Linked DNA regions of Homo sapiens: region 2 is linked to region 1. The links are contacts of gene promoters, found by promoter capture Hi-C in human tissues and cell types (Jung and others, 2019). All regions are on one chromosome and are shown on one strand. Each heading gives the region's core, a stretch centred on a gene start or on the middle of the fragment in contact. The rest is flanking DNA. Distances are from core to core; before and after follow the strand shown. Region 1 holds the start of OXTR (oxytocin receptor). Region 2 overlaps LMCD1-AS1 (LMCD1 antisense RNA 1).

The links. The method cuts DNA at HindIII sites, captures the fragments that hold promoters and counts their contacts. A contact is called where the count stands out against the background at its distance.
Region 2: a fragment that was not itself captured here is called in contact with the fragment with the promoter of OXTR in region 1 in 1 of the 25 tissues and cell types used here (small bowel).

The regions. Positions count from the first base shown.
Region 1 is chr3:8,768,363-8,775,785 of GRCh38, reverse strand. It overlaps OXTR (oxytocin receptor), which reads left to right and starts at 6,173. Exons shown (of 4, transcript NM_000916.4): 1 at 6,173-6,555; 2 at 7,195-7,290. RefSeq lists enhancers at 6,009-6,058, 6,706-7,377. The HindIII fragment of the contact is 11,538 bases long and covers 1-7,423 here.
Region 2 is chr3:8,447,574-8,454,996 of GRCh38, reverse strand. All of the region lies in intron 3 of LMCD1-AS1 (LMCD1 antisense RNA 1), which reads left to right. Among named protein-coding and RNA genes, the nearest start is that of LMCD1-AS1, 50 kb to the left of the region's middle. The HindIII fragment of the contact is 5,954 bases long and covers 726-6,679 here.

The sequences.
Region 1 (7,423 bases), core at 4,924-7,423:
AATGCCTTCCCCTCTCTGAACCTCGGTTTCCTCATCTGTAAAACAGGCATTGTAATAATCCCAATCATTCTGTTTGTTATGAAGCTAACAACCACTTTTAAATGACTCTCAACTCTTTCAGGCTCTACTTCTCCAAAAGACGTTACATATTCCAAGGATCCTGCGTCTCAACAAACCCTTTCTTCTGCAAAAGAACAGCCTGCTTTTATTCCAAGCTCTGAGATTCCTTATAGGAAGCTGTTTCTCTCCAGTTATGCCATGTTATGCCTTAACCTGGGCCAACAGTGCCTACACACGGAGAATGCAATGGTTGAGGCCAATTCATTAACAGGGATTGTTTAGCCACATCCGTTGTTAATTGACAACATGTCTATGGAATTAGAAGCCTCGTGTTTATCTCTGTCATCGCTTTCTCTCGGGGAGAATGGCACACAGGGATCAACAACATCCTTTCTCACAAAGAGCCCTCCTTCAACTTGATTTTCATAAAAATACCATTCTAGGAAGCAGGGGTCTGAGTCTGGTGACTCATTTGCTAAGGGGTGTTCTTGGGTAATCCATCAGCCATTTTCTCAACACATTTTCATTCATAGGCATGCATGATAGGAAAATGATGGGCAAATATAGAAAGGACTGTGATATATGGGACTAATTCTAGGCACTTATAACTGGATTGGGAAGACTGAGCACATTCATACTGTAAATATAGTTTTTGGTCATGCTAGAGAGGTTCAGAAAATAATGATTTCTCAGTGGGCCAGGGTGGTCAGGAAAGGCCTCCCTGAAAGGTAAAGAGTCAGTATCCCCATCTCACCAGTTAGGGTTCAAAGGAGTTACTTTCCTTGCCTGGCACAGTGACATTCCCCCTACCTTCCAAGATGCAGTTTGTCTGATTAAATTGAAAATATTATGAACTCCATCCAGAAAGACTAATAAGATGGAGGTTGATTGGATCAGACACTATTTTCATGGAGTGGTCCTGGGGTCAGGATTGTCAGCATGGGAATAAAGATTTGATTGTATAGTTCTCTGCTGTTTGTGAAGCACTCTTCATGTGCATTAAGTTTGGTTTATACACACAGCCTCATGTGATCAGCACCTGGGGAAACCAAGTCTCAGAGAAGTTCAGTACCTTAGCCACGCTGACAAAACGTGGTAAAATCCAGATGCTAGCAAGCACTTACTGCTGCAGATTCAGAGCTCTCTCCAATAGGAAAGCACATTTTTCTCTCTTTCTCCACCCTGCATGGAACACAGGAATGAAAACAAAGGCTGGGAAGTCCAAAATCACACAGGCTAGAAGGAATCCGTGCAAGTTCTACCTATAAGCAGTGGCCTCCTGACACAGCATCCTGGCACGGCCTCAGGAACTTCCCAGGTCAGCCCATGTGCCCTGATGTGCCTGCATCCGCACAGAGCTATAAATGTAAGAAGATCAAGTGTGCCAGCAGCAGGCTGATTGCTACAATGTGTTCTCAGCCTTTATGCCTGAGAGCATGTCACTGACCCCCCTCCTGGAGCTAGGAGCCCAAGCAGAGGCTGAGAAGTTATTTGGGGGCAGGCTGGGGAGGCGGTGATGTTAGGGAGGGGGTAGGTTGGATGTGTTTATAGCTCATTTCCACTCTGACAATAGAGCAAAGGCCGCTTGGGCTTGGATCCATGTTGAAATAAATGTGCCAGGGCTGGAAAATTCCCAAGATGCTAAAACTCAGACCCAGTTCCCAGAGGCAGAAGTGGGTACAGGACAGGTCATTCTCTGGGCAGGATACCTTCCCCAGAGGGCCTGGTTCTGCCCATGGAGATGTTTATTTCTTCCCTCCTTTCCCCCTTCCTTTTATCCTTCTGTATTTAACAAATACCTGAAAGGTGCCTATTCTATAGTGACCTAGGCCTTTCGAAGTACAGGTATAGACAATATTGGCCCCACCTTTAAGATGCTTGGATACAAGAAAAAAACAACCCCATTAAAAAGTGGGCAAAGGACGTGAACAGACACTTCTCAAAAGAAGACATTTATGTGGCCAACAAACGTATGAAAGAAAGGTCAACATCACTGATCATTAGAGAAATGCAAATAAAAACCACAATAAGATACCATCTCATGCCAGTCAGAATGGTGATTATTAAGAAGTCAAGAAACAACTGATGCTGTAAAGGATCTGGAGAAATAGGAATGTTTTTACACTATTGGTGGTAATGCAAATTAGTTCAACCATTGTGGAAGATGGAGTGGCAATTCCTCAAAGACCTAGAACCAGAAAGACCATTTTACCCAGCAATCTCATTACTGGGTATATACCCAAAGGAATATAAATCATTCTATTGTAAAGATACCTGCACATGTATGTTCACTGCAGCACTATTCACTATAGCAAAGACATGAAATCAACCCAAATGCCCATCAATGATAGACTGGATAAAGAAAAAAATGTGAGATATATATATATATATCTATATCTATATAATCTATATATAGATATATATAGATTATATAGATATAGATATATATAGATTATATATATATAGATTATATAGATATATATAGATTATATAGATATAGATATATATAGATTATATATATATAGATATATATAGATTATATATATATAGATATATATAGATTATATATATATAGATATATATAGATATATATATATATAGATATATATAGATATATATGCCATGGAATACTATGCAGCCATAAAAAGGAACAAGATCATGTCCTTTGCAGGATGGATGGAGCTGGAAGCCATTAACCTCAGCAAACTAATACAGGAACAGAAAACCAAACACCACATGTTCTGACTTATAAGTGGGAGCTGAATGATGAGAACACAGACACAGGGAGGGGAACAATACACACTGGGGCCTGTCACGGGGGCAGAGGGAGGGAGAGCATCAGGAAAAATAGCTAATATGTGCTAAGCTTAATACCTAGGTGATGGGTTGATAGGTGCAGCAAACCACCATGGCACACATTTACCTATGTAACAAACCTGCACATACTGCACATGAACTCCAGAACTTAAAATAAAAAAAAAAAAAAGATGCCCGGATACTCAGACAGATGAAGACATTTGTAAATCAGGGATTGCTGAATCTCTGTCTGTGATGGTTCATTTTGTGTGTCAGCTTGGCTGGGCCATGGTGCCCAGATATTTGGTCAAATATTATTCGGGATGTTTCTGTGAGGGTATTTTTGGATGAGATTAACATCTGGAACAAAGTAGATCACCCACCATAACGTTGGTGGGCTTATCCAATCAGTTGAAGGTCTATATGGAACAAAAGACTGACCTCCCTGAGCAAGAAGGAATTCCGCAGCAGAGGACCTTTGGACTTGACCTGCAAAATCAGCTCTTCCCTGGGTCTCCAGCCTGTCAGCTCACTCTGAAGATTTTGGACTTGCCAGCCTCCATAACACATGAACCAATTCCTTAAATGAATCTCTTTCTCTACATATATACATCCCAATGGTTCTGTTTCTTTGGAAGACCGAAAGACACCCTGTAATGTCACATCTTTTGTCCATGCCTACAGCATCTCTTGCCTGGATCTCCAAGGCCTTCATAATGCCAGTATCTCCTTTCCCATCTTCCCTGTGGCTACCAGCATTCTCTCACCAAGCACAGATTTGAGTACGTTGTTTTGCTTGCAGTCCTTCCAGGCACCCCACCTTCCCCACCAATGCCTTCTAACCTCAGTCATCTTTACACTAGCACCTTCATGATTTTTGTTATATCAGACTTTCTCTTTGCTGACGTCAAAAGTAAGCAGAACTGAGAACTGAATTTCCTCCCTGTTATTCAGTATCACTCAATATTAAATTCACATTTAACACTATCAGAAAGTATTCCATCCCATATTTTGGGGAATGTTGGGTTACAGAATAAAACCCATTCTCCTTTACATGGCCTTGAAGTTCCTTTAGCATCAATAAGTACAGTTATCTCTTGGTATCCATGGGGGATTGGTTCCGGGAGCCTTCAAGGTACACAAATCCCTGATATAAAATGAAGCAGTATTTGCATATAACACGTGCATATCCTCTCACATACTTTAAGTCATCTCAAGATTACTTGTAACACCTAATGCAATGTCACTCGTCACTGCATTTGTGTGCATTCAGTGTTGTAGGTGGCACATGACAAATTCAATTTTTGCTTTTTGGAACTTTGAGGATTTTTTTTCCTGAATATTTTCAATCCATGATTGTTTGAATCCACTGAACTCACAGATACAGGGATATAGAGGGCCAACTGTATGTATTAAGTGCTGGCAATGTGCTAGGCACCAAGCAATTCATCTTTAGTCCTTCCTCCAAAACGCCAAAGTGATTCCCCTGCACCACTCTCTGAGAAGTATGCCTTTTTTCTTTGCTTCCTGGAGAACTCATTCTGGAGCTCTGAAATCCAGCTACCTCTTTGTAAAACGATCTCCCAAGTATTACCTCAGCCCCCAGCAGTCCTCACTTCTGTAACATCATTTATTGTTGTCACACTGCAAATATTAGGTTGATGCAAAAGTAATTGCAGTTTTTGCCATTATTTTTAATAGCAAAAACCACAATTACTTTTGCACCAATCTAATATGTGTTTTTCTCCCTGGCCGAAGCTCAAAGGTGAAGGAGCATGTCTTATTCATTGTTAGGAGTTTTCAAGGGGACCTCTCTATTTCCTGCCTGGTTTCTGCACACAATGAGAAATAAAACAAAAGACAGGAAATGGGGATCACACTATTACTGTTGTTGTTATTGTTGTTGTTTAGATTAAAACTAAGTTAGAGAATTTACCTTTTGCATGAGACTAAATAGCCCTGTTAGGTGAATCCAGAATTAGGCTGTCTCACGGGCTACGCGAGGACCACACAGGTAGGCAGGCTTCCCTACAAAGGGTAGAAGAGTCTGTCCTTGGTGAAGTGGCTCAGTAAACTTGCTCCCTAGAAAGCAGCTGTCTTCCAGGAGAAAGAAGGGCAGGCTTGGTTCTACAGGCCAGTGTTTTCCTTCTCACATTCACCGGTCAGGGGCTCATAGGGAAAAATCTGCCTTCATCCAGCCGTGGAGTGAGGCAGGGGTGTTTTACCTGCTAGGATTGAACCCTCAGATTGCACAGATTATACAGTTTCAGAAAACCAGAGGGACAGGACCTCAGACATTAGCTATCTTGACCAGTGCTCTCATTTTACATATGAGGAGACTGAGGCCCAAAGAGAAGGGGCTTGCCCAAGGTCACTTCATTCTCACCTGAGTCGTCTGTAACTTTAATCTGTAATTTTCGAGGCCGATAGGTACTATTGACTAATATTGATTAATACTGCCTGCCACCCCTTGGCAATGCTGTCAAGATTCCCAGCCCCATTCTGGAATGATTACTCAGCTAGAACCCTGGGATCCAGGTGCTGTAAGGTTGGCCCCTGGGATATCTCGGCATGGGGCTGTAATTGTGGATTAAGGAAACCCAGTCCTTGGCTAACTCAAGTCTCTCCACATAATAAAAAGACGGAGAAGTGAAATGTCAGGAGGAAATACACATTTAATGCATTTTAAAGAGCCCTGTTTATTTTTGAATCCTGGCCTTTTTTTCTGACTTAATTCTTGGCCACTGTAAATTACTTCAAAAAATGATTTTAGAATAGAGAAGGGGCAGGGAGGCTGAGAAGCTGTCTTTAACATTTTATCTTCCTTTGGCATCATTTAGAATTTTAATTCCGAAGCGCGACAAGGAGGCAGAAACGGCTCTTGGGCGCAGACAAGCAGAATCACTTTAAATGAAGACAGTGTTGTGCTTCAGAATTTCCTCTAAAACTACCGAAAAAATAACGCCTCTCCCAGCACTGCTTAGAATAGAGGCCATTTCTAATTCCTCATTAACGGGAATAGGAACAAAAGTATTCCAAAGCAAAGACTTATTTGAGTTCACTGCTAAAGCCGCTACATCAAGCTGGAGGTGTGGGGGGAGAGAAAAGCCTGAAAATTAACATCATTTTTGGGAAATAATCAGTTTAAATGCTTTTGTAACTTCATCACTATCTACCCGGGGAAGAACATTATTATTCAAGCCTCCTATGTGTCTCGGAGTCAAGAGCTTCTAAACCAAGAAAGGAAGAAACGGGCGGGTTATTGACGAGTTCCCTCCCTCTCGCAGTTTTAAACCACTGCAAAATAAACCCATTTGTTAAGGCTCTGGGACCAACGCTGGGCGAACCAGCTCCGCTCCGGAGGGGTCTGCGCGGCTGGCCTCGCCCGCCCCCTAGCGGACCCGTGCGATAGTGCAGCCTCAGCCCCAGCGCACAGCGCCGCATCCAGACGCTGTCCGCGCGCGCAGCCTGGGAGGCGCTCCTCGCTCGCCTCCTGTACCCATCCAGCGACCAGCCAGGCTGCGGCGAGGGGATTCCAACCGAGGCTCCAGTGAGAGACCTCAGCTTAGCATCACATTAGGTGCAGCCGGCAGGCCATCCCAACTCGGGCCGGGAGCGCACGCGTCACTGGGGCCGTCAGTCGCCGTGCAACTTCCCCGGGGGGAGTCAACTTTAGGTTCGCCTGCGGACTCGGTGCAGGTAGCTGGGTGCTAAGCAGGGGTGGACGGGATGGCTAGGGCCGGTGGAGCCATCGGGACCCGAGTGGAGGTGGTGGGGTGCCTCGCACTCCTTGTTCCTGGAGGAGCTCGGGGTGTTCCGAGAGATTGTAAAGTGACTTCTCGGGATTGAGACTCAGAGTCCTTGATTATCTGGGTCCAAAGCGCAAGTCAGGGGTTCCAGAACTTTCGAGGCTGCCGGGCTGGGGAGGAGCCCCGCGGGAGGTGTCTATGCCAGGGTCTGGGAACAGCGCTTGGGCATCTTGGGCTTTGAGGCAGGGGTTCCCCCAGCAGGGACTGCAGAACCGGGTTTCCACCGAAGCAGGTGCTGTGGAAGTTCAGGGAGTGACGGCCGACCGTCTTAGAAAAGGGGGTTAGACGGGGAAGGACCAGAGCTGGGGTTTCCCAGGCAAGTGGCTATTTGGGGATTTCCGGAGGAAGTACTTGAATTAATGTTTACTAGGAGAGGGGCTGGTTTGGGGGTCCCGCGGCAGGTGGATATGCTGAGGGTCGGAGCCTGGGGCGAGTAGGTAGTTTGGAGATTCCCTCGGGGAGGTGATTTGGTTTTAGATTCCCACTCCCGGAGGAACGTTGCTGATTTTGACCCTCCCTTCTCCCCCAGTGGAAGCCGCTGAACATCCCGAGGAACTGGCACGCTGGGGGCTCTGGGCTTGTGGCCGGTAGAGGATTCCCGCTCATTTGCAGTGGCTCAGAGGAGGTACCTCCAACGGGGATTTCTGGGGTGGCGGCTGAGCAACCCGAGGCCGGCGGTTGTGCCCTGTTGTTTCAGATGAGTTGGGTTCCTGGGAATGGGACAAGCACGCCCTACCCGCGTCGGAAGAGAAACGCGG
Region 2 (7,423 bases), core at 2,453-4,952, 320 kb after region 1:
CTGTTTTCACTGCTGCTACTACAACTATGTCTATTACTGCGACTACCACAATTACTACTGTGATTTCTTCTATAAGTTCTACTTCTTCTACCACTACTGTTACTACTATATCTTCTTCTTTTTCTTTTCCTCCTCTTCCTTTTTTTCTTCTCCTCCTCTTTCTCTTCTTCTTCTACTACTACAGTAACTTCTACTGCTATTTATATTAATGTTGCTAATCCTCCTCCTGCCACTACTTCTATTACTACTGCTACTCAACTGCTACTACTTCTGTTATTACTTCTTTTCTGTTACTATTGTTTCTTCTATTACAGCTACTACTTCGATTATTACTACTACTGGTACTTCCGGGGCTTCTACTACCACTACCACCTGAGTTAATCCAATCAGCTCATTTTTTGAGTGGGATAAAGAACCCACACAAGATCAGAATTTGCAAGAGTTAGAAGTGGGACCAGAAATCAGGTCCCCTAACTCATAGACTCATGTTCTTTTCATTCCTCCATAATCTAGCATTGCAGGACTATGTATTACAATAGTAATTCATGATCATGGAAACTGAAAACAATTGACTAAATAAATATGAGGCTCAAGGGTATACTTACTGGCTGTATGATTGTAGGCAAATACCTCACTTTTCTCACCAGCAAAATGGAGATTATAGATTGCTTATTTCATCCAGTTGTTGTGAGGACTACATGAGTCAATACAGGCCAAGTGCTTACACTAGATACTGGCATGCTTCTAACCAGTGGGAAACTCACTTGTCCTTGTCCCCCTTCCCAGCCCTCTGCAACCATTTGTCTCTTTGGTTCTCTCTCCTCCCTGCAAAAGGAAGGAGTATCTCAGCCATTGCCTAGGCAAATATCAGACTGGATGACCAGATGATGTAGTTCCCTTACTCGTAGGCACCACTGACTAACTACTCCAACCATCTCTCTGTCTCTGTCTTTCCCTCCTTGTCTTCTTCCTTTCCCTCTCCCCATCTTCCTCCCTCTTTCCTTCCTTCTTGTCCAACACCCCCTTAGTCTCCTGCCCTGGTGGTGGTGTGCTGGGGCTGGAGCTGGGGCTGCTGGCCAGGGATGGCTGCATCTCCATAGGTGCTGGTGGGGTCCTTGATGCCTTGGAGTCAGCAGAGATCAAGAGCAGACACTGGAGTCTGCTCAGGTGGAAATCCTGCTCTGACAGTACCATCTTTATGGCCTTGGGAAAGTGGCTTAACCTCTCTCAGTCTCAGCTTCCACATCTCTTGTGAGGGCTAAATAACTTAATATATGAAAATCTCTTAGTACAAGGCCCAGCACATTTTAAGTGCTAAGTCAGAGAGAGTCCCCCTTCACATCCTCTGTGTGTGTGTATTATTGATGTGTGTGTGTATTATGGATGTGTGTGTATGTGAATGAGAGACAGAGAGAGAGAGAGAGCTGACACGCCAGGCATTCTCTGTTTATGCTTTGTGATGATGGGAGAAGAGGAACAAAAACCTAAGTGGAGGTCTGGATGGGGCCTACTGGAGCAATTTCTTCCAGCCCTGAGAGTGTGGAACATGATTAGAGACCTTCTTCCAGGTCTGTCTCCGCCTCCCCTTCTGTAAAGCCAGACCAGAGTGGAGCAAAGAGCCTCAGGGTGTGGGGGCAGCAGTGACCTTTGGGTTCCAGTCAGACTGTGAACAGCTCTGGGTCGCCACTGACACATTGAGAAGGAGAGGGAGTACCACAGAGCCAGCCTGCCGGGATTTGGGTCCTGCTGTGTTGTATCCTAGCTGTGGGACTGTAGGCCCATTGTTTGGCCTCGGCGTACCTTGGTTTCCTGTTTATAATGATGGCACTTAATTTATTGGGTTGGATGAGCATTAGAGTTAACATGTGTAAAGTACACGAAGAGCGCCTGGATATTGTTAGTATCATATAATTGTTCACTATTACAATTGCTATTAATTGTTGTTATATCATCAATTCTCCACAGAATCCTTTTATTCTATTTGCTCAGCCTTGCCAAGCCACCTCCCGTTGACCACACTGATACAGATTGGGTTTTCTGGAAGCAGACCCTGAACGTTTGTTAGTGATCAACACCAATGAAAGCGTGGGGAAGAAGAAGGGCTGGGCAGAGGAGAAGCTGAACTGTTATGCATGCCCCACAAAGACCTTCAACCCAGTGGAGGGCTTAGGAACTGGTACTGCCTGTTAGAGCTTTCTCCTGTGGTACAGAATGGCCAGGCCTTTATACCCCCACCTTGTTCAGTCACTGGATATAGGCTGCTCCCAGGAGGCCATGACCTTGTGTGGAATGGCTCTCTGCATCCGAGGCAGAGCCCAAAAAGCCAAGAGCTAGAGGTAGCAAATCCTTTCCTGAAGGAGGATCTGGGAAGTAGAGTTCTTGGTCTACTGGGACACACGCATTTTGAATTTTTAGGTATGCAAGCTTTATTGATCATTTTAAGATGATTCCTTCTGAGCGGTTTTCCAAGACTGGCCACAGAATCAAGAACACCCCCGAGCTGGAAGAGATCTTGCAGACCTTCTGTCAGCCCCTTCTTTACCACTTGGGATTTTGAGGTCCACAGATGGATAAGACCGGCCGAAATAAGTCACTGAGCTGGGAATAGAACAACTGAATTATGGATTTTGTTTTATTTCAAACAATTTAAATTTAGACATCTCACTGGGGCCAGTGGCTACTGTGTTGGACAGTTCCATAGCCTTAGAAGAGTGCATCCTCAATCTTACTTAAAACCCCTAATGGCATTACCTGACAGGCAACAGAGTTGAGGTCAGTTTTCTGCCCCTATTTTAGGTGTCTTTTAATATCCTTTGTTTGATTTCAATCCACTTGAAGGACTTTGTTTGCCGATCTGTAAAGATTGCTTACTTCCTTTGCTCTTCTGTGCCGCTTGCAAACGTCTAATTTTCTTATCTGCAGACTAGTAATCTCTTATATTTCATTCATAAGGCATTCATCTAAACCTTGCATTTCAGCTGCTTGAATTTTCACAAGGAACTAGCAATTCAACTCCCCAGGGGTTGATACTTCGGGTTCTCTTGTGCCGTTCTCCATCTCATTTTTGTGACTACGCATCATAATTCTTCCTCTATGAATAATCTTTTCTTCCTGCCTGGATGAGGTGGCTGCCTCTCCAGCCATCCACAGAGATGAAGTCTGATGCTCAGTGCTGGAAGTGATTTTGCTGTTTGTGTCATCAGTGATTAGAAAGAGTCAACCTGTTATTAATAATCAGAAAGCATCAACTTGTTTGATTCTGTCTTGGAGCCTTATGTCTCTGGTTCGGCTTGTGGAGGTCTAATTCTGGATACGAGATTGCTGGAGCATTTCCTGGTCGCTGCATCTAAATAAGAGCATGACTTCTATCTTTCACCTTTTTATATAGTGAGGGGAGAACAGGAAACCCAGGCAGGAGAGTTCATATGATTATAGTGGTTTGCTATTGTTTTTGACTATACAGCAATCCTCCCACTTTTTTTTTGGCAATAGCACCTTATCTTAGGCCGGGTTCCCCCAAAGCACATCCTGAGTGGGGATTTGGGTACAAATGAGTTATTAAGAGAGTGTTCCTGGAAGAAACTGGTAAGGCAGTGAGGAAGTAGGGCTGAGGCGAGGGAGATGCTGAGCAAGGGTGCCATTTAAGCAGTCCCAGCCTCAGCCCCATCCTATGGGAGCTCCGGAGTGTGAATGACACCTGACTTGAGGCAAAAGGGCTGAGTTTTCCTGTTCCCCCACCATGGGTCTCCCATGTGGGTATAAACACCCAGGCATTCTCAGCTCTCTGAGCTTGCCAATGGCTCCAGCAGCCCAGGACTATTCTTTGAAGAACATTGGTGTTAGTTACTGGTAGAGACAAAGCTGTGGGAGGGGAAGAGAAATGGTCAAAGGGATTCCAGGGAATCTGGGTGGAGTGGGCAGAAGATGTGACCACTGCATACCTCAGTTTTCCATTGAGGAAATGCCTCTTTTGTGTTCCTTTTGGACTCATCAGTCAGGATCAGGGGTTCCCAACTTTGACACTACTGACATTTGGGGTGGATTCTTTGTTGCAGGGGGATGCCTTGTGAGCTGTAGGATATTTAGCAGCATCCTTGGTTGTGAAATCCACTGATGCCCCCTGGTTGTGACAACCAACAATGTCCTCAGACAATGCCAAGTGTCTCCTAAGGAGCAAAATGACTGCTGATTCATAACCATTGGTTAAGATGAAATGCCAGAGAATGGACTTGTGACCCAAGCTGGAATAATCAGGCTCTCCCTCCTTGGAATTTAACTCTTGAGCTGAGGGATATCCTAAAGTGACTGGGCAGGAGTTCTTGCTATGTAGATGCTCACAGATGCTCTGGTTTCTGGATTCTTGAGGCTTTCTTTTCCTTTTAGTTTTCCTTTGATTCTATTATATGTCACTCCAATACCTTTCAACAAATTCTTTCTATGCTTAACTTGAGTCAATTTCTGGTTGCCTACTACAAAAAATTCTTAATGAACACAATGATTAATCTGTTACATCTTATGACTTGATAACTCTAATCTCAGAACATATAGGTATCTATAGACATTGAATGGAATGGAGAAATTAGTTTGACCACAATCACTTCTCCTTTTTTCTAATCTTCCACTTTCTATTTCTCACCTTCACATACATTTGCTTTACATTTTTCCTGGCACCGCAGGGTATGCTGGATTTGTTAACTAAGACAGTCAGCAATCTCCTCTTGAAGAAAGCCTCTTTCTTTGCTACTTCACCAAGCCTTGGTGATATGGTTTGTCTGTGTCCCCACCCAAATCTCATCTTGAACTGTAGCTCCCATAATTCCCACGTGTCATGGGAGGGACTCAGTGGGAGGTCATTGAATAATGGGGGCAGGTCTTTCCCATGCTATTCTCATGATAGTGAATAAGTCTCATGAGATCTGATGGTTTTATAAAGGGAAGTTCCCCTACACAAGCTCCCTTGTCTGCCACCATGTAAGATGTGACTTTGCTCCTCCCTTGCCTTCCACCATGATTGTGAGGCCTCCCCAGCCATGTGGAACTGTGAGTCAATTAAACCTCTTTTCTTTATAAATTACCCAGTCTTGGGTATGTCTTTATTAGCATCATGGGAACAGACTAATACGCTTGGTGACAGAAGAGTCTATTGCTTCAGGATACATCATCTTACAGGAGACGTATAACTGGATTTTTTTTCCCCAGGGATTTATCTTTTCCATGTCTAGATACAGTTCTTCCTCCCCAAAAAAGGAGTTGTTAATGGTTTTTGGACTTGGGCTGTATCCATTTTCTTTCCCTGGAAAGCTATCTAACACTGGAATTATTCCACTCCCAGAGATGTATAGTATGGACTATTTTGATGTTGATGATGGCCCTACCAGGGATGTGTGCAGCTGAATGTGTGAGCCCTCCAAGTCCTTCCCATTAAACTCCTAATATGTCATTTTCTCTTAGTTACAGCATGTATGTAGCTTTCTGAGTTGGCGTGGGGCTTTCCTACTGCAAAACATTAGCGAAAAGCATTAATAGTAGGCTGGCAGTTTTCAGAAAAACTTATCAAATCCTTATGTTTAAATCATTAGGAGTCATTTTAGCCATTTGAGAATGTTCTTTGGGAATTTGCCATTTTTAAAATATTTTCTTTTTTAAGGATTTAAGAATCATAGTCCTAATACTAATAATTACATAGTATCTCCTTTTTTCCCCCTGGCTGCTAGGAAGCTCATAGTCAAATTTGATGCTACTCATAGATTCTAAGTCATCTCTACTATTATGCTTCATATTTCCTTTCTCACTTTTTCCTTTTCCTGAATTTTCTATTCCTATTAATCTTATTATACTCCTTATTGTAGGATCCCCCAAAGCTCTTCGGAGAAATAAATAGGGTATACATGTACAAAAAATTTTTAGTTAATTGTTGCTCCTGTGAGGCTGATACTATTCTGTCAGGCATCACAGCTGTGGCAATACCTGATTCTACTGTTTTGCCACTTCTAATCTTTGGGTTTAGCAGATGGACCAGGCCCAGGCAAATAACAGACACTCGTTCAGTGCTTGATTATGTTTACTTTGTTTTGTTCATCTTTGCTTCTCTGGATTGGAAAGGGTCATGAACTGAGATACTTAGTTAAATTTAAAATGAAGGAGGGGCACTTTACATAAGAATCATAAACTGGTGGCTTGGATGAGGGCTGTCACAGCCCGTGGAAGTGTTTCATTTGCCTTTTTGTTTGGTCTGTTCAGTGTTTTAAGTGGCGACATAGCAAAGCAGAATTTACACTTTTTTTTTCTGTATTTTTTCTTTAATTTTTTTATTATTATTATTTTTTATTATTATGATACTTTAAGTTTTAGGGTACATGTGCACAATGTGCAGGTTAGTTACATATGTATACATGTGCCATGCTGGTGCGCTGCACCCACTAACTCGTCATCTAGCATTAGGTATATCTCCCAATGCTATCCCTCCCCCATCTCCCCCCACCCCACAACAGTCCCCAGGGTGTGATGTTCCCCTTCCTGTGTCCATGTGTTCTCATTGTTCAATTCCCACCTATGAGTGAGAAAATGCGGTGTTTGGTTTTTTGTTCTTGCGATAGTTTACTGAGAATGATGATTTCCAATTTCATCCACATCCCTACAAAGGACATGAACTCATCATACACTTAATCGTAAAACAAACACTGTAAGCCTATCACCTTTCACTCCTTTGGATTTGACATTCGGTGTTACTTCCTTGCCCTTGTCATTGTTTGCATTTGAGACACTTGCTTTGTGGTTATTAACCCATTTCACTAGTAGGTAATAAATGTATACCTCTAATTTAGAAATAGGTTCTGAATTAAAGGAAATGTCCAATATCGAAGAAATTCCAGATCCACCCTGAGTACCTATTTTGCTTTCTCTTTGTAAGCTCTGACATTAGATTTTTAATGGAATACTGTCTAGTGCTGAAAGTCTAACTTTGAATGCATTAACCTCTGCAGATGCATTACACCTTGACTTCTAAAAAGAGGCAACTTTCTAAGAGTGTATTTCAAGTGCCTTTAATATCCGAGACATAAAATGGCATCATATGTGTGTATGTGTTTGCATGTGCTTACTGTGTGTTGGGGAAGTGGACTGAATGTTCTCTAAGCCCTTCCAGTGCTGGGGAGTTCCCATGAGACCCTGAAACAGCCTCTGTAGCTCTCTGGGCCTCAGTTTTTTTTTTCTGAGAGACTTTGACAGCACGGATTCCAAGTCTTTGCCAGTTATGAACTTTTGTAGAACTGTCATTGCCTTGGAATTTAATTAATCTTCAAAAAGGTATGGTCTATCAGGACAGTGAAAAGACAACGGGATAAAATATTTACAAATATTTTACCTATCTAAAATATTTTATTTTAAATAGATGATTTAAAGTAAAATATTTTATTTTAAATAG